Regions from separate parts of the Homo sapiens genome. Here region 2 is linked to region 1. Evidence: promoter capture Hi-C in human tissues and cell types (Jung and others, 2019). All regions are on one chromosome and are shown on one strand. Each heading gives the region's core, a stretch centred on a gene start or on the middle of the fragment in contact. The rest is flanking DNA. Distances are from core to core; before and after follow the strand shown.

Region 1 (6,107 bases), core at 3,013-5,512:
ATATGTCCTATTATGTTGGGATTAAGAATCCCAATTTAAATAAAGTGTATAGAGACCTGGGATTGTTGAGTATGCAGACAAAAAGGCTGAGAGTTGTAGGAGACTGTGGTGCTGATATTAGTATTCAAACTGTTGACTAATAGGGTCTCTTCTTAAGAGGAGGATGGATTCCTGTGGTGCATGGTTGAATGTAAAGCCACTTAAGGAGAGAGTAGTGTCTGCCAGAGGCACCAACATACACTGATCACCTGCCTCTTTCTTGCTGTCATGGATTTGATGCATCAAAAAAAAGTCAGTTATTACACCCTTAAGTATCTTTCTGGGTCACAAATTCTACTAAGTGTAGCATTGACTTTGTTGCTTGTCTTTCTTTCTTTCCTCCTTTCCCCCAGCCTTCTCCTCCTCTATCCTTTTTTGAGCAGCAAGAATCCTACCCCTTTGGGATGGTTTTATGATAAAATATAACTATAGGACAATGGATTACATTGTCTTCTATGTGTCCCTTTATATGTGAACACAGCAGATGGTTCTTCTCACTTTGATATTATCCTTAATATTTAGTTTTACTTACAAAATTGTGCAACAATATGAAGTACAGTATCTCTTATTTGCTGCCAGTCTTTCTCAGAGAAAGCACATTTGCCCTCCTTAATATTTAGTTTTACTTACAAAATTGTGCAACAATATGAAGTACAGTATCTCTTATTTGCTGCCAGTATTTCTCAGAGAAAGCACATTTGCCCTCTTGTAAAAGAGGGGGTATGTTAAGTGTGAGAGAGTAGACAGATCTCATTCACGAACACAAACATAGGGTTAAACTAGCAGGTGAACAGTGTGAAGTGTGTGTGTGTGTATGTGTGTGTGATTTTCCAGGTTAGGGATCCAGAAAAACTTGCCCTAGTTAAGGATTCACCAGCTACTATATTTCTTTAGAAAACTTGCTTTAATATTACATGTACAATTCCTGTGAATTGCCAGATTTATGTAAAGAATGACAGGGAGAAATTCTTCAGTCTTCTATCAGGATAGAGCTCTGCTCCAGGGAACGCTTATGCAAATCTTGCAGATTTTCTTGCTGGAGTGTTAGATGAAAAGAAACTAGTAAAGAGTTTGAACCTGGGAAACGCAAAGAATTTTGGGAAGGAGGACTGATTGTGGTTTTGATTTGAATTTGACACACGTGACTTTTCTTCAACAACTTCTCTGAGAAGGATGAAAATCAGGTTAAATGAGGCTATATAAGTGAAAGGGTTTATAAATAGGATTGATTTATGTGAAGGGAAGGCACGCACAAACAATAGTTACTTTATGTTTCAATGTAAAATAGTCATCGTCTTGACTAAAGTGAAGAATCTGTTTTTTTAGGAAGTCTTTCCCAATGCTTGATCAATCTGAGTTGTCAGGTGCCTACGCCAACTTCACAAATAAACCAAGAATATTTCTGCATTTTTCTTTTCCAGTTGGAGAGTGGCCTTTAAATACTTTATTGAAATACAATATATCCAGCAGGGCTGGATTTGTGGGTATGAGCTTGGGCAAGCTTCTTTTCCTAAAATCAGAGCACAGACTATTCATTCTCAGCAGACTACTCTTCCTAAAGTATTTAGATTGCTTTTGCTAACTGTAAGCCTTCTTCTTCTTCTTTTTTTTTAATGGAGAATAGCTATGCTTCATTTTAAAAATGTCAATTCTAGTATAAACACAGCACTCTTCATATTGAGAGCTTTTGAACCCCGCTCCTGAACAGAAATACAAAGGAAACCCTTGAAAGCAAAGCAGATGTTGTACTGGCTATATCTAGGCCTTGATTTGTTTATAGTTTAAAAATCCATGGGAAAATAATGATCAAAGGCAGGGTGTAATTCATAGAGAAAATTGTAAGACGACTTCATCTGGCTAGATTCTGTAAAGAGTCTTTGATTCAAATGGTTCACACAAAGAAAAAATGTCCCATAGGTTCAGAGTTCTTTCTGGCAATAAACTTCCAGTGTAAACAGGAAGGCTCTTGGGCCTCTTACAAATTTTAGAAACAAATGATACTCATTGCCTTGCACTCAATAATTTTGACTTTGAGACAAGAGTTGGAATGGTTAATAAAAAGTTCCAATTCTAAGTTCAATATGAAGTTTATTTGCCGTTACCATAATATTTATTTGTGTGCGCAGCAGTTTATTGAAAGAATGTGAAGGACACATGCTATTTAGTATATTTAATACTAACTAAAATCCTATAATTCGAAAGAACTTGACTATTATATAATCAGTACCAAAGAAGAGAACTAGGAACTCCAATCCTTTATGCTGATTGATACTGTGTAGCAGAAATATTAAACAATTACCCCAAAGTTAGAATAATGTAATTTTCATTATAATTTAGAAAAAGGGGCTAGTGAAACTTTTTTAGCAAAACTGATGATTTTTTATGATTAAAAGTGTAATTTGAGTCTAATTTTCAATGGACACAAATGCACATAGAATTAATTGAAGTAATGGGGAAATCAATAGTAGATGCACAACAGTTTAAATAATAATTGTAACAATTATTATTTTAAAAGAAACTTCCTCAGGATGAGAAAGAATACATATATATAAGAATATATATTATATATATTCTTTCTCATATGTATATGTATATACATATACATATATATACACACACATATATATATATATATATATATATATATAATTTGAAGGGGGAGTGTCTGAGTGATAGTACACACTTTTCTATCTTTAAAGCCCATTTAAGATCTGGGGAAAAAGGTATGTCTCTGAACCAGTTTGAGTGGATTTTTCCAAATGAAACCTCAAATAGCATTTATATTTAAGCCCTAACAAACACTTGGGAAGATTTGAAGTTAAAAGCAAATTGTGGTGGGGGTACAGCACAGGTTTTGTGGTTTGGTTTTGTTTTGCTTTTTAAATAAACACAGTCCACAAAAACCCATCTGCCTTCACCTGGAAGGACCAGTTCTTTAATTAAAAAAACGCTTTGGCTTCGGTTTCACTGGGAAACTAAAGCCAGAGCCCCTAAACTTTTCTCTCCGCAGATCGGGTGAGCTGGGGAGGGTGCTCATCCACTTCATTGCAGGGGGAAGTACAGCCTGGAACCCCTTTCGGGATACTGTCATTTGCCCCTTCTTCCCATCTCTTACTCTATCCTCAGAACCAGTATGAGAGTTTTCTGGGGCTAAGGCAAGGGGCAGTGGGGTCAGGCGCTGGAAGGACTGGTTTGCAAAGAGATAAGCTTTGGAATGAAGCCGCACAGCTGAAAACTCGCGGCAAGACATGCTCGCGCTGTGGCGAGTCAGTTCGAGAAGCATTTATCCCTACTCCCCTTAGCTTTCTGAGCAGCATTTGCAGTCAGGTGCAAACAGATCGCATATTTGGCGCAAAGAGCCCTGAGGATGAGGGACGTGGGATCATTCCCCGGTTTCCCCCGGGCCAGGTGCTAGGTCGTTTGAGGAGGAACTGTTCTCCAGTTCTCAACGCCTGCAAAGGCGGCTATAGGTGGCAAGCGGAGCTGTCCAGCACTAGTGAGGAGCCAGCGGAGCCGGGAGCCCCGCGCACCCCGCCCGGCTGAGGCTCAGCAACAGTGCTGTCTTGTCAGAGCAGACGCTGTCCTCACTGCCGCCCCTTTCTGGGCTCGCTCCGCGCCCACACGGCCTCGCACGAGGCGGGGAACACAAGTCCCCAGGAGCTGCTCCAGCAGGATGGGCGCCAAAATGTTGCCCCTGTCCTTCCCTTCCCCTGAAAGCGTCTCCTCTGGAGTGGGCTGGCTGGACGCTTGGCCTTTCCCTTTTGCCTCGGAACTTCCTAAATAAACTCGGAGAAAGGACAACATGGACCCTAACCCCCACTTCACACTGTCAGGTTTCCCCAAGGTGGCTCCAGGGGGAGGCCTCTCGCCCCCCAGCCCCGAGCCCTTCTCCCCACCAGCGCCGCCGGGACCCATCTGCTCCCGAGGGCCGAGGATAAGGCGTTTGGGGTTGGGGCCCTCAGTCCGACCCGAGCTCCTGTGCGCACCTCCTCGGAGCAGGGAGGGCGCGCAGAGGACAGCAACGAAGTGTCCTCGTTGCTCCTGAAACGTGGCGACAGGCGAGGCAGAGACTCCCAATGAGTATGATGGCGACACGTGATTCCCGCGGAGGGAGAGCATGGGGGGGGGCGGGGGGATAAAGGGAGAAGGAGGGAGGCAGGGCAGCAAGTGGAGAGAGGCGGGAGCAGAGAGGGAAAGGGGGCGAGATAGGCGCGCAGGCGGCAGAAGCCTCTGCCTCTGCCTCCCCTTCTGCTTGGGCCGCAGCCCTCCCCGCCCCGCCGACCGCGGTCACACACTCTCGGAGCCTCCCCGTGAGCGGGAGCGCGGCGCACGGCGATGCGCCGAGGCGGGCGCTGAGGCGGCGCCGCGCGAGCAGCAGCAGAGGCGGCGGCGGCCCCCAGCCCAGCCCGGCGCCGCCGCCGAGCCCGGGCCCCAAGGTGCGGCGGCGCCCCAAGTTCCCGCCATGAGCAGCCGGCTCGGGGGGCTCCGCGGCCCCGGGGACTCCCGCCCCGCCGGGCGCGACCGCAGCGCCCCGCGGCCCCGACGCGCTTAACGTTGTCGCTTGCCGGTCCCGCCACCGCCGCCTCCGCCGCCGCTCGCGTCCTCGCCGCCACCGCCTCGGCCGCTGCAGCTCCGCCGGCAGCATGTCTCGAAGGAAGATTTCGTCCGAGTCCTTCAGCTCCCTGGGCTCCGACTACCTGGAGACCAGCCCGGAGGAGGAGGGGGAGTGCCCCCTGTCTAGGCTCTGCTGGAATGGCAGCCGGAGCCCGCCCGGGCCGCTGGAGCCCAGCCCGGCCGCAGCTGCCGCTGCCGCCGCCCCGGCCCCGACCCCGGCTGCTTCTGCCGCCGCCGCCGCTGCCACTGCCGGGGCCAGGAGGGTGCAGCGCCGGAGGCGGGTCAACCTGGACTCGCTGGGCGAGAGCATCAGCCGCCTGACGGCGCCCTCGGTGAGCGGGGGGCGGAAGGGGGGACCGCCTTCGGGGGAGAGAACGCGGATCTGTAAAGTTGGCGCTGGGCGAGCCGGGGCGCGAGCGCAGAGCCCGACCGCTGGGGGGCGGCCCGGCCTTACCCTGCACGGCCTAGGGTTCCAGTGGCTCCGGCGACAGAGGATCCCCTAGGCTAGGGCGGAAGAGGGGACTACAGCACTGGGAAGGAATAAGATTCCACTCCTTTGGGGTATCCTGATTCGGGGGCCTGTCTGCCCACCTCTAGCCTTGAACCCTACTTCACCACTGTTCCCCCTGGACAGCCCCAGTGCTGCTTCACACCCACCTGTTTTCTTTCCCCTAAACTTTCCCAGGCACTGTGTTCTGCAGTTCAGCTTCCCTGTCTTTCATCCTGTTCTCCAGCATCCCAAAGGAGCCCCAACCCCTTCCAGGAAACCCTTCCTCTCCTTATTTCCCACACTCTCTTGGTCTTAGCGTGACCTTCTCTGACATCTTTGAATTCCACAGGCTATCTGCATTCTATGTTGCATCCTTTTTCTCACATCTTCAGATACTTTTTGCCAGATACTTTTCTGAGTTGCCTTCTGTTCAAGTAATCTCTAATCTCGAGTTGTCCTCACCCCGTAGCTTTTTTTCTTTTTCTTTCTTATCCACTAGGCATTTATTCTTCTCTGGGTAAACCTGGTGTCTGGATTTCTTTTTTTTTAAATTAAATTTAATTTAAAGTCCCGGGTTACATGTGCAGGATGTGCAGATTTGTTACATAGGTACCAAACGTGTGCCATGGTGGTTTGCTGCACCTACTAACTCATCACCTAGGTATTAAGCTTCGCATGCATTAGCTATTTAAACCGCTCTGTACTTCTTGCACCTGTACCTCATCCTTTACTCTCTCCTCAATGGATTCTCTAGTGCTTTCTCTCTCACATTAGCTATTTAAACCTCTCTGTACTTCTTGCACCTGTACCTCATCCTTTACTCTCTCCTCAATGGATTCTCTAGTGCTTTCTCTCTCACATTAGCTATTTAAACCGCTCTGTACTTCTTGCACCTGCACCTCATCCTTTACTCTCTCTTCAATTGATTCTCTAGTGCTTTCTCTCTCATTTTTTGGTGGCTTCT
Region 2 (5,554 bases), core at 316-2,815, 310 kb after region 1:
ACTTTTATTTGCACTCTGTGAGAGTGCATGAAAAATCTGACATGACTGAGAGGTGAATATAGGTTTGTCATTTCCCACAGTCTCTGTCCTTCTTAAGTATACCTGTTTAAAATACAGGAGAGCAAATGTTCTTAAGGATCTGCATTATAATAGAAATCTCAATATTTTCAAAATGTTTCTGTTTATAAAAATGGAAGAAATACAATAGAAAAGGTGGTTGGACTGTTTTTTTGAATAAATAAATAAAGTCTTTAAATTTATATATATATAAATTATACCTTACTCAAAATGCTTGGGACCACAAGTGTTTTACGGTTTGAAATTTTTTGAGTTTTGGAATATTTGTGCATATTACCTGGTGAGCATCCCAAATTTGAAAATCTGAAATCCAATATCTTCCAAAGAGCATTTCCTTTCAGTATCGTGTTGGTTCTCAAAAAGTTTCAGATTTTGGAGCATTTTGGACTTTGGGATTTTGAATGCTCTGCTATACCAGGTACAGAGTAAAACATTAAATTCTTTTTATCTTAAAGGTAATCTTTGACAACACTACACATTTTTGCCTCCTGAATTCATTCTTATTTTGTGTCTGGTAGAAATTTCCCCTATTAGATATTAAGCCCTGTATATGGGCAGCGACTGTGTCTCTCACAGTCATAATGATGAGTTTGGCTCATCATTATATCCCCAAACTTATAAAAATGTCTAGCCCATAATAAGCACTCTGTAAATATTTATCAAATTAATGAATAAATACATTGATAAGATGGACATTTTCAAAATTAACAGCAAAGAAAAGCATGAAAATGTCTTACTTTATCACACTTTGGCTTTATTCTGGGCATTACTGTACAGCTGCTTAATTAATTTCATGTTTTAGGTAACTTAGAATCATACTGAAAAAAATGTATAGTAGGAATAGTGGCCATTGATTTTTCTATTAACATGGTTACAAAAAACTCAAGCAGAAAATTTGAATATAAAGATAAAAGTTGACTATAATAATAAATAAAATAGTGATATTTTCAAACTTTTGATACCAAATTAGAGGGTAATTTGGTATCAGAAATTCCAGAGAGGGAATTTAAAGTTTTTAGATGAAAGCAGATACTTCCAGATTCTGCAAAATAGATGAGAAAGAAAACTGAAATTACAAATATAAAATTAAGAGAAAGTGCACATTAAAAATACATTTTAAAGCTCTTGCTAAGCTCATTAAAGTAGTGGATACCTTGATTTTACAGTTTTTGAATAAAGACACACCTCTTACTAATTTTAAGGAACCCAAGAGATTTTGAGGGCCTCACAGACAACTTCTGGACAAAGTTTCAGGATTCTATCTAATCATTACTTATCTAAGAACTATATGCTATTTTCAGGATATTTATAAGAGGATTTGCATCTTTTAAACTTCTCCCAATTTTCCCAACACAATTCTGGGCATATTACAGATGATCTGACAACAATTACCATGGCAAATTGAATTTTGTCAAATTCTCTAGTAGAGATCAGTGATTCTGATACTTTCTGCTCTATACGATGAAAAAAGTTACTGAAGATCAGCTACCTCACTCATATCCTATTACATGGTTCCATTTATTCCCATCATGGTATTGATACTTATTTTCCATGTTTGTGTAACTTAGTGTAGATTTATGTCTTCTGTGACAACTTCACTTAAAAAAAAAAAAAAAAGATGTGTAAAAGAATGGGCCCAACCTGTGTGAGGAGTTCATGCCCTGTTGCTTAGACATCATAACAGTAGCTGGCTTTGTTTACATAGTGATGTATTAAAAAAAAAAAAAACTCTGCCAGCCATACAAGTCTGTGCATTTTGGTGGTGACTCAGAGTTTTTGTAGTCTTTTTCACAGTTTATGATGATCCTTAGTGATTAACAAGGTCTGAGGAATGAAATCATTTCAACTACTGCATACACTGAAGCTTACTGTTGTGTTATTGTTCTGCACCTTCACCCCCAGGCCCCCCAAAATCAAACAGAGCCATAGATAGACACGTTGAGCTGACAGGTGGGTAGATTCTTAGAACAAATATAATTTATGAAGTAAAACCCAGTATTAAGCTCATGAGAGTTTGAAATCTCTATTTTATCCCTGAATTACATTCTGTAGAATGTCCAACATTACCTGTTTATCTTGAAAACTATATGATTATTATAAACTTTGGAAGTGGACTGTTTTGATATTATGATAAACTGAAATCATTTTTTGAATTGTTCATTCCAAATGCATTTTGTCTTAAATATTCAAATAATTGAATTTTAAAAATATTTTTGTAACTATTGTGGAGTACTGAAAAGATAATAAAATATCCATGATCCTACCATAGTTAAACACTTTATATTTTGCTTCAGATATTTCTTAATAAAAATGAACAAAACATTTTCTTTGTAATTTTCTCAGTCTTTCATTGTGACATCCTAATGAGTTTGGTGTGTTTCAAAGGCCCGTGTTTTGTTTTTCCTTCTTTTTTTTGAGACGAGTCTTACTCTGTCGCCCAGGATGGAGTGCAGTGGCACAATCTCCGCTCACTGCAACCTCCGCCTCCCGGGTTCAAGGGATTCTCCTGCCTTAGCCTCCCAAGTAGCTGGGACTACAGGTGCGTGCCACCACACCTGGCTAATTTTTTGTATTTTTAGTAGAGACGGGGTTTCATCTTTTTAGCCAGGATGGTCTCCATCTCCTGACCTCGTGATCTGCCCTCCTCGGCCTCCCAAAGTGCTGGGATTATAAGCCTGAGCCACTGCGCCCTGCCTCAGTCCCATGTTCTATATATTAACTTTCTACATATGTATCCATGAACAATATAATTTTATTTTACATGTTTTAATTTTCATAAATGGTATTTTACTGTATGACTGTTATCACTAACTTTGGTTTCTTTTAAACACAATTTAATACTTTTAAGATCTATCCATGTTGGAGCATCTTTCTTTGGAAATTCCAAAGAAAGAATGGGTTTGGTAATTTGGTCGAAGGTGCATTTTGAGCTGTAACTAAAAGCTGAGATAGTAATCAGTTTATTCCTATGTGTTTTTATTAACAAAAGTCCCTTACTGATGACTGTCTAAATCATAGACAGCTCTAGCTCATCATTTTAATCGCTGTATGACATTTCAGTGTATGACTCCACCATATTTTAATATTTCATACATATATTCCTCTGTTGATCAACACTTCGGTATATTTTCTATTTTTTAATTATCACAAAGTTTGTTCCTGTGAACATTATTTACATGACATTACAAAAAAGAAATTTTTATTGAGTTTTAAGTTTTCCAAATTAGACATTTTCATTTTTCTTCAATAAATGTGTTTACACACATTTTTGTTCCCATCATCCCAATGATGGGATAAGTTTTTTATGGGATATGGATTTTAAATAGTGCACATAATATATGCACCATTAATATATGCACTTTAAATAGTGCATATAATATATATATCATATATACTAATATTACTTTACTGCATATAATATATATTTTAAAATAATGCATATATTATAAACAACTGTCTTAACATCATGCTGCTGATCTATAAAACAGAAATAATTGCTTATATGAAGGATGGCTTTAGCAAATTTTGAAATAAATGATTTATCTCAGCATAATTATTTTTTCTTGCTACAGTGCAAACTAAAAGTGTAGAAAGACTTGAATTACTTTGGTATGAAATTTTTCTTAATCTTTAAACATTTTTGCTTTTCTCATTTTACAATTGATCTACTTCCAGATGTTTTAGAACGCCTATTTTTAATTGACTGTGAAAGGCTTCTTTCTGTTAAAACCAAGCTTCTTCCTAACCACTGCTACCTGAACAGCTCATTGTATGAGAGCATGTACAGTCGAGCAGATTAGGCAGTGGTGAAGTGCATGAGCTCAGAATCAAAATGCCTAAGGTAGAATCCAGGCTCTAAATTTTCCTGTCTACATGAACTTTAGTGACTTAATTTCTTTGGACCAAGTTATCTCATCTCTAAAATGGGTACATGTTTATGAAGATTATTGTTGGCATTTAATGTGATATTTTTAAAGCTCCTTATACTTGGAACATATTAGACATTCATTTACTGCTTCATCCTGTTCTTTCCATGGAGGAAGAAACCATCTTATTCCTTCACTTGAATCTCATAATTTATAAATTTAGCCATGATGAATGATGTGTGCTAGTAGGATTACAGACCTCATCTGGAAATTTGAGAGAAAGAATGGGTTTGGTAATTTGGTCAAAGGTGCATTTTGAGCTGTGACTAAGAGCTGAGATAGTAATCAGTTTATTCCTATGTGTTTTTATTAACAAAAGTCCCTTACTGATGACTGTCTAAATCATAGTCATATGATTAAAAATTGGCTGTGTACATGGGAAATTCCCAAATTTAAGCTAAGGTACATAATTAATTCAATTAATCACATGATTAATTGAATTATGTACCTCTGCTTAAATGTGGGAATCATATATGTATATCTATATACATATGATTACTAAGTAATCATTACTTAATAAGTAATCATATATATGTATGTAATCGTATATATAGTATATAATTAATCTAATTAGTAAGTAATCATATATATGTGATTGCTTACTAATTAGATTAATTACTTACTGTTGGCTTCAACAACACAAACATTATTTTATAGTTCTATAGGGCACAAGTCTGACACAGGTCTCACCTAGCTAAAATCAGCGTGGGCGTCATGAGGCCTTCATTCTTTGCTGAAAGTTCTAGGTGATAACATGCTTTCTTGCCTTTTCCAGCTTTGAGGCCACTCTCATTCCTCTGTTCAGAACCTTCTTCTTCCATCATCAAAGCCAATAATAGTTCATCTTTCTAATTCTACTTCTATCATCACATATCTTTTACTGACTCTTCCTCCCTCTTCTACTTTTAAGGACTCTTTTGTGATTATGTCAGGCCCACTGGATAATCCATGGTAATTTCTCTATTTTAATGTCATCTGATTAGCAATCTTAATTCCATCTGCACCCTTAATTCATCATTGCCATGTGTATTAGTCAAGGTTCTCTAGAGGGACAGAACTAATAGGATAGATGTATGTATAAAGGGGAGTTTATTAAGGAGTATTGACTCACAGGATCACAAGGTAAAGTCCCACAATAGGGCGTCTGCAAGCTGAGCAGCAAGGAGACAGTCCAAGTCCCAAAGCTGAAGGACTTGGAGTCCAATGTTCAAGGGCAGGAAGCATTCAGCATGAGAGAAATACGTAGGCCAGAAGACTAAACCAGTCTAATCTTTCCATGTTCTTCTGCCTGGTTTTATTATGGCTGTGCTGGAATAGATTAGATTGTGTCCACCCAGCTTGAGGGTGGGTCCGCCCTTCCCAGTCCACTGACTCAAATGTTAATCTCCTTTGGCAACACTCTCAAAGATACACCCAAGAACAATACTTTGCATCCTTCAATTCAATCAAGTTGACACTCAATATTAAACGTCATACCATGAGACCTAACATATTCACATTTTTCAGGGATTGGGATGTGGACATCTTGGGAGGTGGGGGTTATTCTTCCT

Evidence for each region. The method cuts DNA at HindIII sites, captures the fragments that hold promoters and counts their contacts. A contact is called where the count stands out against the background at its distance.
Region 2: a fragment that was not itself captured here is called in contact with the fragment with the promoter of GUCY1A2 in region 1 in 1 of the 25 tissues and cell types used here (H1 embryonic stem cells).

What each region holds. Positions count from the first base shown.
Region 1 is chr11:107,016,631-107,022,737 of GRCh38, reverse strand. It overlaps GUCY1A2 (guanylate cyclase 1 soluble subunit alpha 2), which reads left to right and starts at 4,262. Exons shown (of 8, transcript NM_000855.3): 1 at 4,262-4,985. The coding sequence starts at 4,683. RefSeq lists a silencer at 4,739-4,868. The HindIII fragment of the contact is 5,267 bases long and covers 2,394-6,107 here.
Region 2 is chr11:106,702,798-106,708,351 of GRCh38, reverse strand. The region is part of intron 7 of GUCY1A2 (guanylate cyclase 1 soluble subunit alpha 2); the gene reads left to right. Among named protein-coding and RNA genes, the nearest start is that of GUCY1A2, 310 kb to the left of the region's middle. The HindIII fragment of the contact is 7,782 bases long and covers 1-5,456 here.